Linked DNA regions of Homo sapiens: all the other regions are linked to region 3. Evidence: promoter capture Hi-C in human tissues and cell types (Jung and others, 2019). All regions are on one chromosome and are shown on one strand. The core of a region is centred on a gene start or on the middle of the fragment in contact, and the rest is flanking DNA. Distances in the headings are between cores, read along the strand shown. Region 1 holds the start of TRIM52 (tripartite motif containing 52). Region 2 overlaps COL23A1 (collagen type XXIII alpha 1 chain). Region 3 holds the start of RNF130 (ring finger protein 130).

Region 1 (3,163 bases), core at 460-2,959, 1.2 Mb after region 3:
CTTTCTCTAGAAGGAAAACGGACCCCACTGAAGGTAGAGATGCAATCCCAGACTTTCAGAGGGGGGGTGTGGCCAATTGCTATCAGTAGTTTAGGACTCACATCTGGCATTTCTGTCTACCAATACATCTATTTTGACACTGCTTGTGCTGAGGTCCCAAATGTCTATTATCTCCAAGTACTGTGGCTTTCTATTCCTATCTGTACCTGTCCCAGGGAATTGGTCAAGGACTCACATTAGGGAGAAATGAAGTACTGGGTATCTGTTACTCACGTCCCTTACACTTAGGTAGACTGCCAGTATTAGCAGTAGTGGTCCGCTTCCAGTGACCGTCATATTATCTGTTCAGCTTCCTCTGGGGAAGCCAATCTGCCCCAATCTTCATGGTTTTGTGTCTCCTTTTTTACCCATATGACCATCTCTCTCCACCGTGTCTCCCTCATCAAATAAAGAGAAGTTTAGCAACTAAGTACCTGAGGAGGTGGGAAAGGAATGCTACTCATTCCTCAGCTCTCCTAGTTACCTTTCCACTCCCTTCATCCCCCCACATTCCCTCATTTCTCTCACCTGGTACTCCTGCACCACCTCCTCCAAAGGCAGCACGCTGTGCTGTTTGTGGCTCCTGGATTCTCGGCACACCACACAGATGGCCTCTTTGTCCACCTCACAGAAGAGTTTCAGGGCTTCCTGGTGTTTAAAGCACATGCCCTGATCATTACTCCGGTTTCCCCGATAAGGAGTGGGGCACATCTGGCGAATTATCTGGACCATGTTGGCCAGCTGCAAGTTGGGACGAAAGCTGCGACGTGTAAAGCTCTTTCGGCACTGGGGGCAGGTGAACTGCCCTGGAAGGGGCAAGGAAGGAGGCGGGTGGATGTCAGGATACAGCTCTTCATCTTCGTCCTCATCGTATGCTTCCAGTATTTCTTCTTCTCGGTAGACATCAATTCTCAGGTCAGGTCTCAAGCCTCCTAGGTAATAGTCCTGATCTTCCTCTTCTTCTTCTTCCTCCTCGTCCCACATATAGTCTACGTTGTCCCAATTAGTTATACCACTGTCACCGAGCCAGAGTTCATCGTCATCTTGGTCTTGGAACAACTCTTCGTCAGCATTCCCCCGATACAACACCTCTCGAATGGAGCCGTCCCATCCATCCATGGCCCCCACCGCTTCCTCGTCCTCCTCCTCCTCCCATTCATCTTCCTCCTCGTTCTGGTCCTCCTCGTCCTCCTTACTCCACAGCTGGGTCACACACCCTCGGCAGAAGTTGTGCCCACAGCTGATGGACACGGGGTCCTTGAAGTAATCCAAGCAGATGGCACACACCGCTTCCTCCTGAAGGGTCTGCATGGGGCTGGGAGTAGTGGCATAACCAGCCATCTTAATGCCCGCCGGCAGGTGTAGATACGTCAGCTTGGAGCTGAGGAGCGGGGACGCGCCTGCAGGCCTGCCTCCAAACTACTCTGGTGACCCGAGGCTGTCCTCAACCTTGCTCTTCTTCCTCGGGGCCGCAGGGGAGCTTTGACCCCCTCTCTCAGGGTGCGAACGCCCAGATCCAGACTCACAGCCTCTCTCTGGGATCGGTGGGGACAGAGCAGGCTGCAGCCCCCAGCTGCTCGGTCCTGTCACGTCTCTCGCTACCCTCAGGGTGTGCCCTACACTGCGGCGTCCGCCTCAGATGCAGCCGCTGGCTACCCTGCCCGAGGCGACGCAAAATGACGTCTCGCTCCTGCACACGCTCTGGAGAGACGCTCTAGGCCGGCGGAGGACCACGTCTCTATGGTGTGCCGGGGGCCGCGCGGGCCGGGAGTTGGGTGGGCTGGGGGACAGGCGCGCCCGCGCCGCCCGCTCCAGCTGGGCTAGTGCTGCACATTCCGGCCAGCCCCTCCTCAAGACCCCATTCCCAAGCCCCTTCTCAGCTCCCTCGGGCCGGCAGAGCGGCTCTGATCAGGTCAGCGGCGGACGCCGGGAAGAGGCCCGGCTTGGGAGAGGTGGTTTGGTGGGTTGGCTGGTTCTAGATGGTGGGGGGGTCAACACTTGAGGGGGACTGGGTCTCCGAGCCGTTGTCCAGCCTGAGCCGGAGCCCCAGGAAGGTTAGAGGGAAGGGGGATAAATCTCTCCGGAAGCCCCGCCCGGGCCGGGGCCGAGTTGGTCCGCGGCGGTGGGGAAGCCTGGGACACCACCCTGGTGCTGTCGCCCGTCCCGCCGTCCGCGCTTGGGGTGCCTTTGTGGGGATCCGGGCGCCGCACAGCTGGGAGGGCCTGCCGCCCGGGAGGCTCGGATCCGGGGCGCCCAGTGCCCCCCGCTGCCTTCCGTGAGCCGTCGGGCCCCAGCTCCACGTAGGCCTCAGACCCAGCCCTGTTTCTGCTTGCGGGGCCGCGGCTGCGCAGTATTGCGGCGTCTGCCAGCAAAGCTGCGCCCCGGTCGTGGGTCCCCTGAGGGGGCCGGGGCTCAAGTTCCCTTCGGTGCTGCCGCCTGCGTCGGGCCAGGGTTCCGAGTTCCAGCCCTGAGCTCTGTGAGCTCGGCCGGGAGGGGGCTGGATTTGGGACCACACTTCCTCACCGCCGTGGTTTAGACTTAGTTTGAGAGCGGCTGGCCCCTCCTTCCTGTCCCGGTGTCCTCCGCTGTCTGTTATGCCCTTCACTCCTCCCTGGGGAGGGAGGGCTGGGGGCGCTGTCTGGGTCTGTTTTCCACCCCAGCGGGGCCCTAGGGCAGTGTCATTTAGACTCCACTCTGTCACCTTTCCTGGAGAGGGGACCTGATCCAGGGCTGAGAGGTTTTTTTTTTTTTTTTTTTTTTTGAGATGGAGTCTGGCTGTTGCCCAGGATGCAGTGCAGTGGCGCGATCTCGGCTCACTGCAAGCTCCGCCTCCCAGGTTCACGCCACTCTCCTGCCTCAGCCTCCCGAGTAGCTGGGACTACAGGCGCCCGCCACCACGCCCGGCTAATTTTTTTTTTTTTGTATTTTTAGTAGAAACGGGGTTTCACCCTGTTAGCCAGGATGGTCTCGATTTCCTGACCTCGTGATCCGCCCACCTCGGCCTCCCAAAGTGCGGGCTGAGAGATCTTACAGTGGGAGGGGGAATCAGGCCCTGGGGAAAGGCTTCTCAGGGGTTGTCTCCTTCTGTCTTCTGTCTCTGCAGGTAGGGATAGAACCAGGTCAG
Region 2 (3,119 bases), core at 117-2,616, 1.8 Mb before region 3:
GAGGCAGCTCGTCCCCCGGGACAGCCTCCTGCTCTGGGAAGACTTTCCTGGCCTCTGGTTCTGGACACAGCTGGGAGCTGGCCTCGTGCCTGCCAGGTAGGAGGTAAGCTGCTGGCTTCCCTGGCTCAACCTCCAGACTGCCTCGTATGGAGATGGCCCATCTGCCCATTCCCAGACGGTGTGAGAGTGGCCACTCCACGTGGGGCTCGCGGCCAGGGCCTTGCTGGCAGCAGGAAACCAGGCAGTTCTAAAAATTGGTGTCAAAGGGCTTCTGGCCACCAGTCTCATGGTCGCTGAGGGTTTGGCCATCAGAGTGATGGCCTGGTGACAGCTGGGGTCCCAGGAGAGTGGGAGTGGGGGCATTCCAAAGTCTTGGGGATTCAGGCCCTGGGGGCCCCGGGTCAGGGCCTCAGCCTCCATCACAGGCATAGTTCTAGTCCTTGCCATGAGCCTCCCAGGAGCTGCCCTAGCTGGACAGTGTCCTCTTGCCAGTTCCCGGCTGTCCTGATCCTGGGGTCCACACCCCCAGGCCTTCTGCCCTCGGTAGTACACTAAATTTGGCCCTGCCCCTTGTCCCCCTACCCCCCGACCCAAGCCCTGCTGGGTGTCCTCAAGGTCGCGTCCCACTAGGCATCCCCACCTTGGACCCTTCCCCCAGGCCTGACCCCACACACATGGCCGCCAGTCCTTCCTGGGTCTCTTCAAGGAGCTCTTCGTGGCCCCCACTCAGTCTCAGTCACACAGCAACCCTGTAAGGTACGTGTCATCATCCCCATCTTACGGAGAAGGAAACTGAGGCCCAGTGAGGGGAAGACCTTGCCTAGGGCCATGCAGCTGGAGAGGTCTGGGCCCTGGGTCTCCATCCTGTCTGCACTGCAGGCCCGTGCCGCGGTGCTGTCTGGCCTCCCGGCCGCTCTCTCCTGCTCTAGGCCTCGGAAACCTCTGTTAAATCCTCCCTGCAACCAAGGCCCCCTGGATGTGAAGCACGCAGAGCCACAGGGCTCTGCCTTTCTAGAAGTGCCCGTGGAAGGGAGCCCAGGCTGTCCCCTTGGCCTCAACCCCAGAGGGAGCATCTCAGTGCTGCCGGCTGTTTCTGGAAGTGTCCACCGACTGGACCTTATTATGGCTGCAGGCCTCCTGCCTCCTGAGCTGGACGCTGCCCTCTGTCAAGCTAGGACTGTTCCTGGGGGGTCACTGATGGCGCAGCCTTTGGTCCCCGAGGCTTCTTTCTGATGTGTGAGAAGCCCCGTCCGTGACAGAAAACCAATTTTTACACCAAACGCCCTGCCTGTATTTGTGATCAGAGAGCTCTGGGAGTTTTTACAAGTGAATTCAGTGTGTAGCTTCCCAATAGAGGCAGAGGGTGCAGTGTGCGCAGTGCTCCCGGGAGCCCCCACCAAGGGCTGAAGGGAAGTCAAGTCCAATTCTCGGAAGCCGAGCCTGTGCCTGCACCGGCACTGAAGCTCCCTGTGTGAAAACTGACACAGCAGACGGGGCTGGGCCAGCCCCTGGGACAGAGCCGACCCACAGCCAGGATGACACCTGGGCAAGAAAGCTGTCCCCAGGCCCCCGAGCTTTCTGTGTGGGGCAGTGGCTGACCTTGGAGAAGCTGCTGGGTGGGTATGGTCACTGAGGAGGGGACTCCGAGGTGGGCCGGGAAGGAACAGCCTGGCTTTGGAGTCAGATGCACCTACCTGGCTTGGGGATGTGATTCTGACCTCCCCTCCTGTCCTGGGGAAGTTGGGCCAGCCCTCTGGGCCGGAGGACCCTGGGCTGTGAACCTCCAGGGGATGGACCCTGCCCACAGTTACCCTACAGAATGCCTTTCCCAAACTGGTGTCCCACAGCACACTGCCCTGCAGGGTGCCAACAGGCTTGCCTGGAGACAGGGATTCCACGGTTGAGTAAGTCTGAGAAACACTGGGTTACACTCTGCGGAACAGGTTTCTTTCCTGCAGGGCTGTCTGAGCCGTCATTTTAGTTTGTGGGTCTTTGAAAGGACAGTGCTCCTTCCACCCCTGCAATGGGCTCAGTGGACTCAGCCTCAATGCACTCAGTGCCTGGCTGAGTCACGCAAAGCAACTGAGGCGTGAGGCTGTGCAGACCATCTACAAACCAGGTGTTTCTACTGGTGGAGTGGGGGCTGAGCCTGGCTCTGGGTGCTCTTGAGAGGAGGACAAGCGCCTCAGGGAAGGGCCTGGGGCTGGTCTGAATGGAGCCAAGGAATGCATGGGGTGGGGGGCGTGGTCAGGCTGGACAGAGGCATGGCAGGGCAAGTGTCCAAGTGTCTAAGCCCGAGGGAAGTCCTTCTGAGGAGAATGAGGGCTGTTCTGAGCAGCTGGGCGGTCTGGAAGGGCAGAGCCCCAGACTGGGCGGGGGCATGCCTTGGGTGGTGGTTGGCTGGGTGTGGGGGGGGTCTCCCCTATCTAGGCAGCCCTCCCCTGCCCCAGACAATAGGGCACCGGCCATCAGCTGCCCCGTTCCTCTCCCAGCATCTCCCACAGAAGGAGTGGGAAGGAAAGTAGCTCGGGGAGGTTTACCACCAGCTCACAGAGCGAAGGCCAGGGCTCAGCCTTGCAGGGCCCAGGTTCAAATCCCTCCTCTGAGCCTCAGCTTCCTCATCTATGGATGCCACAGCACTGTGCCTGGAGATGCTCATGACTGTCCAGCTCGCTCCCCTGCCTGATCAAAGCCCTTGAATCCACCAGAGGTTTTCAACGCCTTCTGCCCTCTGAGAAACCCCACAGCTGTTTACAAGCCTTGGTTCTGCTTTAAATCACTCTTTCCCCATGGAGATCAGCCGGGCTCCGGGATGTTTCCGGATGTGTGAGAAACAAACAAAGCTCTGGGCTGCACATGAGCAGCAGGCCAGGCGGCCACCTGTCCTGGGACCCCGGATGGGCAGCCCTCCCCCAGCCCTGGTGCTGCCTCAGTCCCTTGCTTTGCTCAGGGACTGGGGTGTCCCCGAGCCTCAGTTTCCTCATTTGTGAAATGCAGGTCATGCCATTCTCCTCTCAAACAACAAGTTCAAATTGGGTCCCAGGTCAGTGGCCTTTGTTTCCCAGACCAATGCAAGATGCGAAGCCCCACGGGCAAGCAGACACTGGATTAGGGTTTGC
Region 3 (2,980 bases), core at 371-2,870:
TTGTTAGTTGCCAGTCTGGCAACACTGTGCATCTCAACCACAGTGACTGGCACAGAGCAGGAACGCAAATATTTACTGAATGAACCCAAGACAAAAGTTGTTTCTACGGCCAAGCTGGGACCCTAACTGCCATTTTTAACACAGTAGAGATGAGATATGCACCTTAAGCACCTGATTACTGGTGTAAAACGGACTTTTCAAAGCCTAGTCTGAGTTGCGGACAGGCTACAGTAAAAGCCTTATGTGATTATTTTTCCCCAGCCAGACTGTCTCAAAGAAGAAAACAGCTTAGCACTTTGGCATACAAATACAGACCTCAGAGGGGCATAATATGTTAGTATCTTAAGAGTGTACAAGCAAATCATGACTTTATTTAGGTTGCCTACTTTAGGTCATCCTAACATGAACAGCAGTTTAGAAAAGAAAAATCCCCTCTCAGCATTCTCAGGGTGACAATGAGGGTGGGGATAATGGCAGATATCTCCCAAAAGTTCAGCGTGGGCCAAAACCCAAAAAATCATATTCCACGATGTGCAAAAGGTTTCTTTCAAACCATGACTAATAATTTAAACAAATACATGTTTACACCAAATAATCAACTAAACAAAGTCCTTGTTCATAGGAAAACATGACATTAAGCCGAATGGTTTCAAAGACAATTCTTGAAAATTTTACCTATTTCCCTTTTGGTCGGCACCCGTGACCTGAAAAGCCTTGGCTAGTAGTTCCGATTAGTGTCAGATCCTCATAATGTGACATTTTCAGGCGTCAAATTACAGTAAAACTACTAGGGCAAGAACAAGAGCCAAAAGCAACAGGGAAGATGTCCATTTTCCATTTACACCCCCCCCCCAATTTACCACTTAAGAAAAACGGCACGTTTTTATATTAGAAAAGGGCCGCATCCTTCCAGATCTAGCGCAGCCTTAAGTCCGTGATTTGAGGAACCTGCCGCTTCCAAAATACAGGCTGAGACGTCCTCCCCATGAAGTAGTTTTGCGCTCTTGCACCACCTCCTTTGTCTACGCTGTCCCTGCAAACTCCTAGCTCAATGCCCTCCAGCAAACGAGCTGCCTGAACGCAAAGATGACCGTTCCAAGTCTTTTTTAAAAGAAGGGAAAAACCCAGTCACGCTCCTGGAGCCTGGTTCCCACGGGAGCAGGCCGGGCTGTCCACGACGGAAGCCTCGACCCTGGCTGGGGCTGTCGGCCGGGCAGCGCGGGAGAGCCAGGGCCAGAGCCGGGGCCGGGAACCCTAGTCCCGCCGCCTACGCGGGATGCAGCGACCACCGCCCGCCGCCCCCGGGCCGGCACTCACCTCCGTGGAGGGGCAGCGGCGCCAGCACCTGGCCGCGGACCTCGGCCTTGGGGGAGTCAAGCCCGTAGCGCCCGCGGTCGATGCGAAACGTGAGCGGGGCGCCGCGGCCGGGCTCCTGCACCGTCACGTTGATGAGCGCCGTGTAGTACTCCTGGCTCGCGTTGTCTGCCCGTGCCGGCCACAGGCTGCAGGTCAGCAGGGCGAGCGCGGCGAGCCGGGCAGGGCCCGCCCGCCCCGCGCAGCTCATCGTCCCTCCGGCAGCCGCCGCTGCTCGCGGACCGGGCTCCGGGGCCGGCGCCTAGAGGCGGGGCGGGCGCGGCCCGGGCGGCGGCGGGAGCGCGCGCGCGCGGCCTGCGCGGGGCCGAGCCCGAGCGCGGCCCTCCTGGACGCCGCGGCCCCGCCGCTCGCCGCCCTCACGTCCACTGCCCGCCTGTGGGGACGCGCCCATGGGCCCTCGGCGAGGGCGGCGTCTCAGGTCGCACGCGGGCGTCTCTTCGGGGTCCCAGGAGGGTTGTAGAAGCGTGCCCCCTCCATCCCCCCGGGTCGGTCCCACCGAATGGGAGGCGCCTCGCAAGGACGCGGCGGGGGAGGGGAAGGGCGGCACGGGAGGAAGCGCCCCGAGGAGGGTCAGCGGAACACAAAGTCCCTCTCGCGCGGCTGCCGCCTGAGGCGCGTGTCCGCCGCCGCCCCGCCCCCCCGCTGGTCTAGCGGCAACGCGCAGGCCTAAGGCGCAGTCCCGCCCCGAGCGCATGCGTGCCAGGGCCTGTCCGCTCCCGCCCGCCTGCACGAGGGCCCGGGCAGCCGGGTCAGCCGCTGGTGCTGGTTGTTTCTCTGTCAGGCGTGATAGCCGCAGGGCGTGGAGCCCGGGAGATTTGCGAGGACGTATGGAAATGTGTGAGAACAGACTACAAAGGAAAAAAAGCCATAACTTTAAAAGAAATGTTTAAAATTAAATGTCATGAGATTTAACATTCACGTCATGCGGTTGACATCATGGATGGGGGATGTCTCTGGCCCGGACCTGCAGGGACACGAGTGGTTGGGAAAGACCTCTAGGGTAGCCGTCCCTAACCATTTTGGCACTGGGGGACGGGTTTCCAGGAAGAGAGTTTTTCCAGGGACTGAGGGAGTTGAAGTGGTTTCCGGATGAGGCTGCTCCACCTCAGATCATCAGGCGTTAGATTCTCGTAAGAAGTGGGCAACCTAGGTCCCAAGCATGCGCAGTTCACAGCCGGGTTCACGTTGCTATGAGAGTCTAATGCCGCCCTGATCTGACAGGAGGCGGAGCTCAGGCGGTGATGCTCACTCACCTCCTGCTCGCTTACTGGTTCCTCGAAGGCCCTGGGCCGGTACAGGTCCGCGGCCGGGCGGTTGGGGAGCCCCTGCTCTAGTGACTAGGTGAACTACTCCAGGGGCCCCCGGACCAGAGGGTTGCAGTGGGAACCCCCCCTCCACCTTCCGAAACGCGCGCGCGCGCACACACACACGACTCTCATTTTCTCTCTCCATGGCGTTTAAAAGATACACATCGCTATAAAGTATCAGCTAAAAGGAAGAATGGGGCAGTGCAGCCGAATTCAGGAACTTACAGGATCTTTGTGGGGAGGCGGAGGGGGAAAGTTTGGCGTCTTCTGACCAGCCAGGGTTGAGTCTCCTGTCTCCT

The links. Contacts are between HindIII fragments. The study calls those that stand out against the background at their distance.
Region 1: the fragment with the promoter of TRIM52 here is called in contact with the fragment with the promoter of RNF130 in region 3 in 1 of the 25 tissues and cell types used here (heart left ventricle).
Region 2: a fragment that was not itself captured here is called in contact with the fragment with the promoter of RNF130 in region 3 in 1 of the 25 tissues and cell types used here (lymphoblastoid cells).

Annotation. Positions count from the first base shown.
Region 1 is chr5:181,259,434-181,262,596 of GRCh38, forward strand. TRIM52 (tripartite motif containing 52) reads right to left here and starts at 1,710. Exons shown (of 2, transcript NM_001346048.2): 1 at 568-1,710. The coding sequence starts at 1,380. It overlaps TRIM52-AS1 (TRIM52 antisense RNA 1), which reads left to right and starts at 1,779. Exons shown (of 3, transcript NR_102762.1): 1 at 1,779-1,951. RefSeq lists enhancers at 1,411-1,460, 1,641-1,690 and silencers at 1,831-1,980, 2,091-2,340. The HindIII fragment of the contact is 18,434 bases long and covers 1-3,163 here.
Region 2 is chr5:178,272,170-178,275,288 of GRCh38, forward strand. All of the region lies in intron 5 of COL23A1 (collagen type XXIII alpha 1 chain), which reads right to left. Among named protein-coding and RNA genes, the nearest start is that of PHYKPL, 41 kb to the left of the region's middle. The HindIII fragment of the contact is 7,558 bases long and covers 1-3,119 here.
Region 3 is chr5:180,070,139-180,073,118 of GRCh38, forward strand. RNF130 (ring finger protein 130) reads right to left here and starts at 1,621. Exons shown (of 9, transcript NM_018434.6): 1 at 1,318-1,621. The coding sequence starts at 1,564. RefSeq lists an enhancer at 1,295-2,002 and a silencer at 1,892-1,971. The HindIII fragment of the contact is 8,378 bases long and covers 1-2,980 here.